Linked DNA regions of Homo sapiens: regions 1 and 3 are each linked to region 2. Evidence: promoter capture Hi-C in 16 types of primary human blood cells and fetal thymus (Javierre and others, 2016). All regions are on one chromosome and are shown on one strand. Each heading gives the region's core, a stretch centred on a gene start or on the middle of the fragment in contact. The rest is flanking DNA. Distances are from core to core; before and after follow the strand shown. Region 1 has its middle 300 kb from the start of MIR588. Region 2 holds the start of RSPO3 (R-spondin 3). Region 3 has its middle 300 kb from the start of RSPO3.

Evidence for each region. Contacts are between HindIII fragments. The CHiCAGO score rates a contact against its expected background, and 5 or more counts as called.
Region 1: a fragment that was not itself captured here is called in contact with the fragment with the promoter of RSPO3 in region 2 in 2 of 17 cell types (M2 macrophages and endothelial precursors); the score reaches 5.9 in M2 macrophages.
Region 3: a contact is called between a fragment that was not itself captured here and the fragment with the promoter of RSPO3 in region 2, in 1 of 17 cell types (M2 macrophages). The highest score is 5.6, in M2 macrophages.

Annotation. Positions count from the first base shown.
Region 1 is chr6:126,784,844-126,788,984 of GRCh38, reverse strand. No RefSeq gene overlaps it. Among named protein-coding and RNA genes, the nearest start is that of MIR588, 300 kb to the right of the region's middle. The HindIII fragment of the contact is 3,108 bases long and covers 35-3,142 here.
Region 2 is chr6:127,117,038-127,120,949 of GRCh38, reverse strand. It overlaps RSPO3 (R-spondin 3), which reads right to left and starts at 2,279. Exons shown (of 5, transcript NM_032784.5): 1 at 1,661-2,279. The coding sequence starts at 1,757. LOC105377989 (a long non-coding RNA gene) reads left to right here. Exons shown (of 14, transcript XR_002956387.2): 4 at 1-2,049. The HindIII fragment of the contact is 5,242 bases long and covers 1-3,912 here.
Region 3 is chr6:126,819,442-126,823,199 of GRCh38, reverse strand. No RefSeq gene overlaps it. Among named protein-coding and RNA genes, the nearest start is that of RSPO3, 300 kb to the left of the region's middle. The HindIII fragment of the contact is 1,500 bases long and covers 1,602-3,101 here.

The DNA of each region.
Region 1 (4,141 bases), core at 339-2,838, 330 kb after region 2:
TATGCTTCCATAATTTGGCTGCTTGTCCAAAGCTTATCCGAACTATCTGAACCTTTTAAATCTTCAGAGTTGGCCTGGAAATTTCTGGCTCTTTGTTACTGGACCTGGCTTGGAGCTACATGAGGATGGCCTTTTGTAAAGATTTTTGGCACCTCTGGCTGTGATGCTGCTTATGACAAACTGCAAATAAGAAATTAACAAAGAACAAATGAACTGTAATATTTTAAAACATCAGCAAGAGTTTAGATTTTTGTGAAAACATTTTTTTTAGCACTGAGATACTTTATTGATCTTTTTATAATAGTCTGATAGTAAATAATCATCGCAGTTTATCAAGGACTGAGATGATCAAGGAATGCTCCAGGTAAACTATGATCAGTTAGTCACTATAATATGAACATTTCAACAACAGGCCAAATTCCACCTGAAATTCACAGGAGAATGTAATTGATGACATATATATTAATTGTCTTTTAGTTTATAAATTTATCTGTGTTGATTACTATATAATTAGATCTTTGACCTTGACCAAAGACTTTAAAAGATAACCCTTTTTTTCTACTGGTTCTGTGGTATGAGATACAAACACATTTGCTTTATAAGTGGCTGTATAAAGTCATAATCTTCCATAAAACAAGTGATGATGTTTGAGAAAAAAGAGCAAATAAAAATTTTGGTTTTCATTCTATGTCATAAGCATGAACAAAAATTCCATCTTAATAAAACAAAAAAAACAAAAGAGAAATGATATTTAGACAATTACTCCATGGAGTGTTTTAACATAGCCTCCTAGGCTATGATAGAGTCTGGTAAAGAATAATGGTTGTAAGAATTATAAACTATATCACTATCACTGAACTTTAACTTGCCCCAAAGTGGTATCACTTTAATATTTTCTTAAAACATCGAATTTTCTAGAATTCATGCTTCTTTATTTTAATTTCTTAGTATTTATCAAACAGAACCATGAAATTTCTTTTAAATTGTCTTCAGCAAAAATTCTATTTTTTCTACCCCAATCTTCCTGCTCATTCCTTTCAAAGATACTTTAAATTTCTTCCCTGATGCTATGGCAATAATCTAATTTACTATCCTCACCAAGACACTTTTGAAAATGAAGAGGGTGCTATTAATAATTAAGCTGGGAAAAAGTCATAAATCTGAGACTAACCAGAGCATACACTACAAATGCTCATACAGTGTGCAGTTTACAAAGTGTATGGTCTACAAAAAATGGCTTAAAAAGTATATTGATGACAGGTTTAGAATTTGATTCTGTGTTCCCATGCATACTTTTTTTTTTTTTTTTTTGAGATTGAGTCTTACTCCGTCACCCAGGCTGGAGTGCAGTGGCGTGATCACTGCAAACTCCACCTGCCAGATTCAAATGATTCTCCTGTCTCAGCCTCCCGAGTAGCTGGGATTACAAGTGCCAGCCATGATGCCTGATTAGTTTTTGTATTTTTAGTAGAGACAGGGTTTCACCATGTTGACTAGGCTGGTCTCAAACTCTTGACCTCAGGTGATCCACCATCCTCGGCCTCCCAAAGTGTTGGGATTACAAGTGTGAGCCACCACGCCCGGCCTCCATGCATACCTTTTAAAATTACTAGTGCCCTCCTTTTTCCCATCATCCTCAACCCTCCCACACAACTATAAATTTCTTTTCCTTCCCCATGTCTCCTAAGCTGCTCTTGATACCACAGCTTCTTCAGTTAGCTGGTGTTCTCAGGGAGTGGGGCTGTTCTTCATCTTCCTTCATGGTCTCTGGTCTCTACTTGCTCACTCTCTCTGTATACCTCCCTCCCTGCTTTTTTGCTTTCTATGTGTTCTGTTTCGAAATTCCAGACTTTGGTTATGGTCATGGTACAGTGGAAGAATTATTTTTCTATAACAGTAACATTTCTTTTAATAACCTTTCATTTATCTGGTCTTTAAATACTTCACTTCTTTGTTGATACCTTGTAAATAACTTTTTTTCCCCTTTTCGTGTTCAGTCTCTTCTCTGAAGAAATTAGAATAAACTCTTCAGTTTTGAAGTAGCCTTCCTCTTCCCTCTTTACATGAGAACTACAACCCTGGAGACCTATGAGTCCTAAAGTAGACTTGGCTTTTTTCTCCCAGGGAACCTTAAAACTTACATGGAACCACAACCTGTGGTTGGTTGTCCAGTTTGTAGAGTTCTCTGAGTTAGTATATAAATTAGATTTCTTCCAGTAGCTCCATGATTTAGCAAACAAACAAACACTCCAAAAAATAAATAAATAAAAAACCTTAAAATCAACTCACAATAAAAGAGAAAAAATCATCAATATATTCACTCAAAAAATTTGTTTTTTAAGTGTAGGCATTTGAACAGGAATTTTTAAAAATTTAATTCTAATGACTCACAGCTCCATGATGGCTTTGAGATATGTCATGATTCTTTTTTATTAGCACATAATACGTTAAGAGCCTCTCTCTTTCACCTACATTCATATATGCACACACACTATATCTAAACACATAATGAATAAAACACAGCATGGTGAGTCATATTCCTAGGCCTGTATCCCAGTTCTCCCTTTAAAACATTCATTTATTTAATTTTCTCAACATATGAATCACCTGTGGACATGACAGTGGCTCTATGTTCTGTTATGTATGCCCACTAAAAGCTCCACTCTAGGGGCAACTGATACCACCAGTCCCTCAGCTTTGGGAAGTTCTGAGATGAGATGTAAATCCAGTTGCTTCTCTGCTTTCCCTACTGCTAACTTACGATATGGTTTTCTACAATCTGCCAGGTCTGTTACACTCAGCCATCTGCTTTCTAGCTTCCTAAATATTGTTGCCCTTGTTTTTTCTATTCTTCATCTTTGTGTATCTTTTCATAGTCTTTTGAGTGGGTTTTCTATTGTTAGGATAACTAAATATTTGCATTCAATCCACCATTTTAATGAAGTTTCATCTTAATCTTTGTGGATTTGGGTTTTTTCATCTCTAAATTGGGAAAGGTAGACTTTCTCTAAGGTAACTTCAAAATATCCTAATGCTATAAACTCTAACATGTTGCACAAAATATTTTAAAGCAACTAAATTAACCTCAAAATTAACATTGCATTCATTGGACCCTACATCACACTGCCCATGCAATGAAGCTTCAGTCTAACATTTAAAGCCTTGTGTAATTGGAGTCAATCTCCCTTTAAAAACAGCAGAAACAACAGCAAGAAGAAAACCAATCTTTATTTTTAATTTACTTCAATGCCAATCTTTCTAAGACAATGTAGTTATCTTAATCACTTTTATAATATTGTAAACTGCTATATCCTGAAAGCCTAGCTTAGTTATTGGTCTTTAAATATGTGTTGAATGCAATATACAATAATGAGTGAGATAGGCCACTGTTTAGGGTCATGGGTCTCACCTGATATAGAGGATTTGGTCCTAAAATGAATGATTCAGTTATCTGAAGAAATTCCTGTACCCACAAAATAAGTTATCTATTTACCAGAAGGACCTGGAAATTACTTTTTTGATAAAACTCTATATTTCCAGTTTCTGTTTCTTCATATGAAGAGTAGGAAGGAAGAAGGGGCAAAATACATTTTTTAAATGTGTAAGCTTATCTATAAGAAGAAGGGACAAAAGACATTTGATTTTTTCATAAGCTTATCTATAATTGCCTACATTTCTAGTGCCCCACTCTGTTTTGTATTCACATAGAAGGCAGGAGATGTGAGCCAGGATACAGATTGTACATTACTCTCTAGACAGGCCCCACATTGCTCTCCCTCCGTATTCCTTTGGGTCCTGAAAAGACTCAGGGTATAGAGGAAAAATGCACCAGTTTTGCTATCAGATGGGACACTGTTTGCACCCCACTCCACAACTCAGCATATGCTACTTTGAGCAGGAGTCTTTGTCAAAATGTTGCATTTTGTGTGGACTTTCCGGGGATGAGACAAACCTGGTATCATTCCTTATAGGTGTCATTTGACCTGAGGGAGAGGTAATCATTGATAAATGATCAAATTGTGTGATAACTGGCACATCATCCATGGCCTGGGCTTAGGGCTAATGGCTGTTGTCAAGCAAATTTGACCAAACCTATTATTGTGTTTAGAGTCATCCTTTAGTTAGGTATGTTACACAGACC
Region 2 (3,912 bases), core at 1,030-3,529:
GACCGCCAGGCGCGTGGACACCGCTGAACCCCAGGCCTCCCCTTCCGCGTCCGGGCCGGAATGAAAGAGTGGGTGGGGAGTTACCAGAGTACACACCATTCGGAGGCCAAGAATAATAAATCGGATGCCCTGACATATTTAGTTTGGGCTCTCCTGCCCCCTGCTAGGTGATCCTAAAGGCGGTGAGGCCCGGCCAGGGCCCCTGTCGCTCTGGCACTGCCACCTTTTTAAAAGGCAATTTTCAGGTGAATCAAACCTTGTCTGGCCGAGGCCAGCAATACAAAGGGAGCTTTCAGGGGACCCTCATGCCCAGGGGCAGGGCAGGGACAAACAGCGGCCGAGAAGCGATTACTAAATTTCCATCTCACACAAGCCGGTGTTGTGTCCTCCGCGCTGCCCCGACGTCTGCCCCGAAAGGCTTCCCGGGCGGGACGCTGGGAGAGGGATCCCCTTGGGAAACCAGGTGGGGCCGCTGGGCCTGGGCTGCACGCCGCGGAGGTGCGAGAGCCCAGAGCAGCAGCATCGCTTCCTGCCCCTCGCGAGCTCCAGGAGAAGTTTCCTCCTCCCTCTCTCCACCAGCGCCCCCAACCATAGAGCCAGGGTCGCCCCTGCTCTGAGATCTGCGAAAGGACTCCCCATGGGAACACAGACACTAGAGCAGCGAGGGCGCCAGGCTACCCTGGAGCGAGGAGAGGTGACACCTTCGCATCTGTCCCTTCATCTTGGGAAGATTCTACCTTTCAGACAGACCAACCCAGGTTGAGGCTGCCGTGGTGGTGTCCGCTTAATTCCAGCTAGGACACCGTCTTAAGAAGCCATCACAATCCAACCCTCCAAATAACAGCATTAAGGGCAGCGAGGAGGCGAATCTTTAGGGAGACCCCACTCTCTGTACGTGTGTGTCCCAGGGGACACACTTGAAAGGGCCAGAGATGGTACAGACGCTCACATGTGACAAGAGAGAACCTGGAAACTCCGCACCTCCGGCTCCCCACAGCTGGGGTTTTGCTGTCTTCAACCCTCGGGCGGGGGACGTCCGGCAGCTCTGCAAACGCGCAGACACGCGAACCCCATCGCCTCGCGCGCCCTTTGGCTCCGCTGGTGCGTGTCGGGGATGCGGCCGCGCAGGCGCTCGCTCCCTGGCTTCCTGGCCGGGTAGCGGGCGTTCGGCTACCGGAGTCCAGCCTAAGGGCCCAGCCGAGGTCTCCCCGCGCGAGGCGGTTGCGCTAGGTGAGCGGGTACCGCGGCCGCGCCTCCCTTGTCATTTACTCAGCGGTCAGAGGCATCCTGCGTCTGGGAGTCCCAAGTGCCTTCGGCTGGGTGCCCCTGTCCGATCCTCAAAAGGAAAGCACAAATCCCGGGTGCGAGTCTAACCCAGGACCGAACTTTCCCGCGAACCTGAAGTTACCATGGGGCGGGAGCCACCTTAGCGCCGCGTCCGCCCGCCCCTCGCACCGGCTAGGATGCTGCGGAAGGCAGGGGCGCCGAGAGGCAAGGGTGAAAGACGCCGTCCATACCCCCAAAGCCCGAACCTGCATCTCCTCTGCGAGGCGCAGGGCGGGAGGACCGCTGCAGTTGGGAGCCGGCTCCGGACAGGCAAAGCGACCCGACAGGTGAACGCGGCGGGAGGGAGCAAACGCGTAAAAAACCCTGCACTTACTTCTTCGCTGGCGCCTTCCCCGGGAGGCGTTTTGGCTGCCGATGTATTCCATAAAGTTCAAAATGATAAAAAGCCAAGAAATCAGTCGCAAGTGCATAGTAACCCAGTAATGCTTCCCTTCCTTTCTCCTCTTTCTTTTGATTGTTAATTATATTTAATGTTTTTAAAATATATGTAGGTGTTAGGCGTATATAGACAGTGCCCGAGCAGCGGGACTTCTCCTCTCACATCCGATAGGCGTGCTGTGATGGCAAGCGAAGTGGGGCGGGTGGACAGGGAAACCAACTATTGTACTTTCAAATTATCCAAGCACTGAACTGCGGCGGCTTCGCTGGGGTGGCTGGCATCGCCGCGAACCGGGGTTCCAGGAGCCGCCGGGGCGGCCGCAGGTAGCATGTTGTGCGGCAACTGCCGCAGGCGGGATCCGGGCGGGCGAGCGGCGGCGGCGGCGGCTGCAGCGGCGGCCCCTTGGGCTCAGAAGCTGCGGCGGCTGCGGCTGCAGCGGCGGGGGCCCCTGGAGCGCAGGGGAGCGGGCGCCGTCGGCACAGCGGCCATGGCCAAGGGGCGGCGGAGAGACCCCGAGCTGCTTCTGGCGTGCGCGAGCAGGAGACGCTCCAGTGTTGGGCTGGGCTCCCGGGAGCACCACATAGGGGAGGAGGAGGAGGAGGGCAGGGAGGGGGGAGGGAGAGGAGGGCAGGGAGGGGGAGAGGAGGGGGGATGGCTGTGGGGGGCGGGGGGGAGCTCGGGGGCGGGGAAGGAAACTGCTGGAGCAACAACCCTGAGCGACCTCAATAACTTTCAATTTCAAGAGGGAAAGAGGGAGCTGGAAAAGTACAGGCGTTGCGCTTTGGCAGAGGGACGGGAAGAGGCGCCTAAGGGGTCCCGGGTCTACAGCGCAGCATCTCTGGACACTGCAGTGACGGCCGGAGAATTCCAGCCAGAAGAATGGGGAAAGCAGTGCGTGCGAAGAGCCCCTCCAGAAGGGCAGCTCTGGCGGGGAGACTTGGGCGCACTGGGGCTGGCAGGCAGTGTTGAGGCCGAAGACCCCCCACCCATCCCAGTTCGGCTCCTCTCCGCGGCCTCAAGCTAGGCGCACCCGGCTGTCGGTGGCCGTGCGCCCCTGCGCCCTTGTGCCCCAGCGCCCCCACCCCATCCCCAGCGCCGGCGCGCAACTACCCTCTCCCCCTTGGCAGATCGCTGGAGAGTTTCTGGCTGCTGACTTGTTCCCGGCTTTCCTGACCTTCTCCTCTGTTGCCTTTCTCCCTTTTTCTTTTTCTCTCTCTTTCTTTCTTTCTTTCTTTCTTTCTTTCTTTCTTTCTTTCTTTCTTTCTTTCTTTCTTTCTTTCTTTCTTTCTCTTTCTTTCTTTTCTTTCTTTCTTCCTTCCTCTTTCTTTGTCTTTCTTTCTTTCTTTCCTTCCTTCCTTCCTTCCTTCCTTCCTTCCTTCCTTCCTTCTTCTTTCTTTCTTTCTTTCCTTTCTTTCTTTCTTTTCGGCTGCAGTTGGTCGCCAGGCGGGTGGTGGGGAGGAAACTCTGTGGGTGCTGCCGGTCAGCTACTCTGAGGTTTACCTGCTCCGAGCGGGGAGGACCCAGAAGTGTGTGCGCTCAGGACCTTCCCGTTGGAAATGCAGCTGTGCTACGGCTTTCTTCCAAACCAAGGCTTTTCTGTGGCTTTGGAAGATTCCTTTCCCGCTCAGGCAATTCCCTCTATAGTCAGCTCGCCCCCCTTGGAGTTTTCTCTCCCACCCTCGGTCTCCCAGTGTTCTTGAGAGGATCTGTTGTACATTCTAATCTCGCATCTGGAAGACTGGGAATAAGATTTGGAAAGATTTTCCCAGTCTTGGGGAAGGAAGGGGAAGGTCCACTACTTTCTTATCTTCCCAGCCCAAGTGGAGGCCCAAGGCAGCAGAGAGTAAGATGCTCTGGCCCACCCAGGGATGGGAGAACAGAGGGCCGGCACCCCTGAGTGGGGCACACCCTGGCTGTCGTTAGTAAATGGTGAGCTTTCCACGTCTTTTCTCCGGTAGCACCAGCCGATGAACTTTTCAGTAATTACTGAAGAAGTATTTAGTCGAAAGTCACAAGCCTCAAGTGATTTTAACATAAGCCTGCCCTATGTATTATATTTAACAGAATATCTGAAGGACTACACTAGCACTACAGGTTAACACAGCAGCAAACTTCTGGGAGGTCACTTTGAAAGAGTCCCTGATTCATAGGTGCTTTGCTAATTTTTGTGCTCAAATAATTCAGTG
Region 3 (3,758 bases), core at 1,102-3,601, 300 kb after region 2:
AGCACTTTGGGAGTCCGAGGCGGGCGGATCATGAGGTCAGGATATCGAGACCATCCTGGCTAACATGGTGAAACCCCGTCTCTACTAAAAAAAAAAAAAAATAGCCAGGCGTGGTGGTGGGCACCTGTAGTCCCAGCTACTCGGGAGGCTGAGGCAGGAGGATGGCGTGAACCCAGGAGGCGGAGCTTGCAGTGAGCCGAGATTGCGCCACTGCACTGCAGCCTGGGCAACAGAGCAAGACTCCATCTCAAAAACATAATAATAGTAATAGTAGTAATAATAATAATAATATGAAGCAAACTGTATGCTATCCTTTTCATAAGCTGTACCAGGATAGAAGCATCTGAATCTGTAAATTACTTTTTTATATGGCTTGTAGGTATCTAAACATTTATTTCTTATGTTGCACTCTAATGTATAAATATTCTTCATAAGATAGAATGCTCATAATTAAACATTTGCTAGGGGTTTCTGGGAATGTTTATCATTCTAATATGTAGTATTCCACTTGATAAAGCCAATTATTGCACACACTAAGTGGTAGGGCAGTAGCTTATCAGAACTACGTTGGTATAGAATGCTTTATAGCTACAATGTGAATTTTCTTTAAAATCAAAATCTTCTCATGTTAAAAAATATACTCTGCAATCAATCTTTTCTACTTCTAGAAACGTAACTAAGGAAATGATCTGAAGTATCAAAATATTATGCACAAAATATATATCTAATTTTAATATTAAGCACAAAAATATAGGGATATAAACTGTTTATTATTAAAAATAGAAAATGTTGAAATAAATCAAATCATGGAATGAAAATTTATACTACAGGTATTATGAACCATAAGAATAATTATGTAATATAAAAATTGTTATAATATAATATTTATGATATATACGTACATATATACACATACATACATATATATTTGATGAACACATACACTCTCTATTCATTCCAAACATACTGGAAAAAATTCCAAAGTTATAGTTATCTTTGTATGGTATACGATTTCATTTTTTCTTCCTTTTGTTTTTAGGCATTTTTCAAATTGCTACAATTAGCAGATGTTACTTAGAAAAACAAAATATCTCCAGTAAATTTTCATTTTTCACAATTGGATTTTTCTACATGGAATACAACTTCTTTAATATGCTTTTTGAACAATTTTATATTTTTCTTTTGTCGAACCACTAGAAAGTTTTTGGTTTCACTGCTGAATTTTTGAGGTTAATATAATAGAAGTGTGACAGCTGTACCCTCAGACAGACTTGCCCTAGCATCTCTCAGATGCAGAATCTCTTCATGACAGGAAGTGGACCTGTTTGAGCTTGCGTGGTATCTCTTAAAATTCATGTGTTCTTTCACTTTATTTTTATTTCTTGATGGAGCAAAGGAGATATGAGAGAGAGATTGATGGAGACAGGGAGAGAGAGACTGATGGAGGCAGGGAGAGAGAGATTGGGGGAAAGGCAGGAGATGGACTGAAGTAGAAAGGACAAAGAAAGAGCTGATTGCAACAGCTGCTTTGCTTATCTGAAAGTTTTAACTTGACTCTTGTTCACATCCCAGGTGACCAGCTAATAAAAATAATTTAAGCTTTAACAAAACAAGGATAATTTATACTGTGGAAACTGTAGTCTGGCACTTGTATCAGCACTAGAAACAAGATTTCTGAAAATTCCTTAGGGGAATGGAACTAGCAGGGACATAGAATTTAATAACAGCTTTCTTTTCACCCAGCCACCTCATCTCACCTCCCACCCTCTGCTGCCAACTCAACATCAACATCATCATCTTGAAGCAAATTTATACAGTTTTCCGTTTCATTGTTGGATTCTCCATGTTATTTTTAAAGCAATTCTAAAATCATTTCTTCTATACATGAAAATATTTTAAAAATTCAAACCTGAATGGTTTTCAATAAAATTATTGCTACCACAAATCTACAAGTATTCAAGAGACCTTGTTTAAGCAGAACTAATTCAATTTTTAAACTAGAATATGTATTGCATATTTTATAAAATTATACTTTTCTTGGAAAAAAGGTTAAATGTCTCACAAAAAGGGAAGATTTTATTATTTTTTCATCCCTGTTGAATTAGAGTGAAATTAATTTGCTAAATGAAAAGCTACTGTCATCTAACATATTTTACAAAATGAACATACACATGGAGATTAATCAAAAAAAGCACGGCACCAGCTTCATAACAGTGTCATGCTTAAAATGAACTTACATTTTTATTCCGCCTTGAGGATACACAGATTGTTTTGTTTTAATGGCTTCCAGCCATCTCTATTATATAGCATAAATCCTCAAAGGGGGAAAGCAGATTTTAATCCTCAAAACAACATGTATAGGGAAAGAGTTTAAAAGTGCTGATTAAGCAAATGTTGTTGGTTTAGTCTATCTATTTCACATTTGTGTTTAAGTCATTGTGGAACAAATATTTAACTATTGGAGTAATTGTCTGGACATTATTTCAAACTTGGGTGAATCTTGGGCATCTCTAAGGTTGCATTTTAAATGACAGTCATCACCGGTTTAAAGGAATTCCTTGGCAGAATTGCTAAGCGAGAAATGAACTCTGGTATTGGAAGGCTATAAGTTCAACATATTATTAAAAACTCAGAATCAGATAAAAGTTCTTGGAGGCATATGAGCTTCCGTTGGTAGGCAACTTGTCTTTCTCTGCATTCCCAACTGCTGAATTTAGAGTGAGAGACAGAAGGTGAAGCCATGTTTTGTCACATAGCTACTGTGTGACCTTCATTAAGTCAATTTATCTTTCTGATCCTCTATTTCTTTATTAGTAAAATGGAAGTTATAATAATTGTGTTGTCTAATTCATGAGGCTGGTCTAATATTAAATGAAAATAATTCATAGAAAATCATTTTATAGCAGCAAACAATAGAGAAAAATTCATTCACTATATAAAAGGTGAATAAATGTGCATTTGTGCAGTATATTTTATGGATACTTGATAAGGAAGAAGAAAGTTGGAATTCTGATTTGGAGTTACAATATCTGGGTTCGAATTCAAGCATTGAAAATAACTAGTTCTGTTATGAGGAGCATGTCAATTCATGAATTTAAGCTTCCATTTTTCTATAGTGAAGTTAATAGTAATACTTGCCTATTAGGTTATCTGGAGATCCAATGACCTCACATATATAAAAACATTGTATAATCTTACCGTTATTGTCATTTTGTTTCAAAAATTCACTTTTCATGGTAAAAGACTAAGATAATTTCTATCCCAACGTGGACCTCAGGAAAATAGATTTGGCTTCATACCTTCCCTCTTTTAAGTTTAAATTACACCTCCTTGCAAATTAATTTCCTTTGGAAGCTATAAATTTTCATCCAGAATTTCGCATTTTGTTTAATCTTCTTCTCTATATGTGGTGGCAGAATAGTTTTAGATTATTTTATTTATTTAATTCCCAAAAATAACTTAAGAAAATACAGTAACTAACAAAATTATGTTAATGGACTAAAGAATTGGCAGAGCAGAAGAATCTGTGAGAACATTGTGTGTCTCCTGGGATCCTATCCCCAAAACAGCTTGATCCAAGAGAAAGAGGCCTGGATGGAGGTAGGGGGCTGAGGTCAACTGGATTCTAGCTTTGAATTTTATGTGAAGCCTCTGAGAATTTTTTTTTTTTTTTTTTTTTTTTTAGATGAAGTTTCGCTCTTCTTGCCCAGGCTGGAGTGCAATGGCACAATCTCAGCTCACTGCAACCTCTGCCTCCT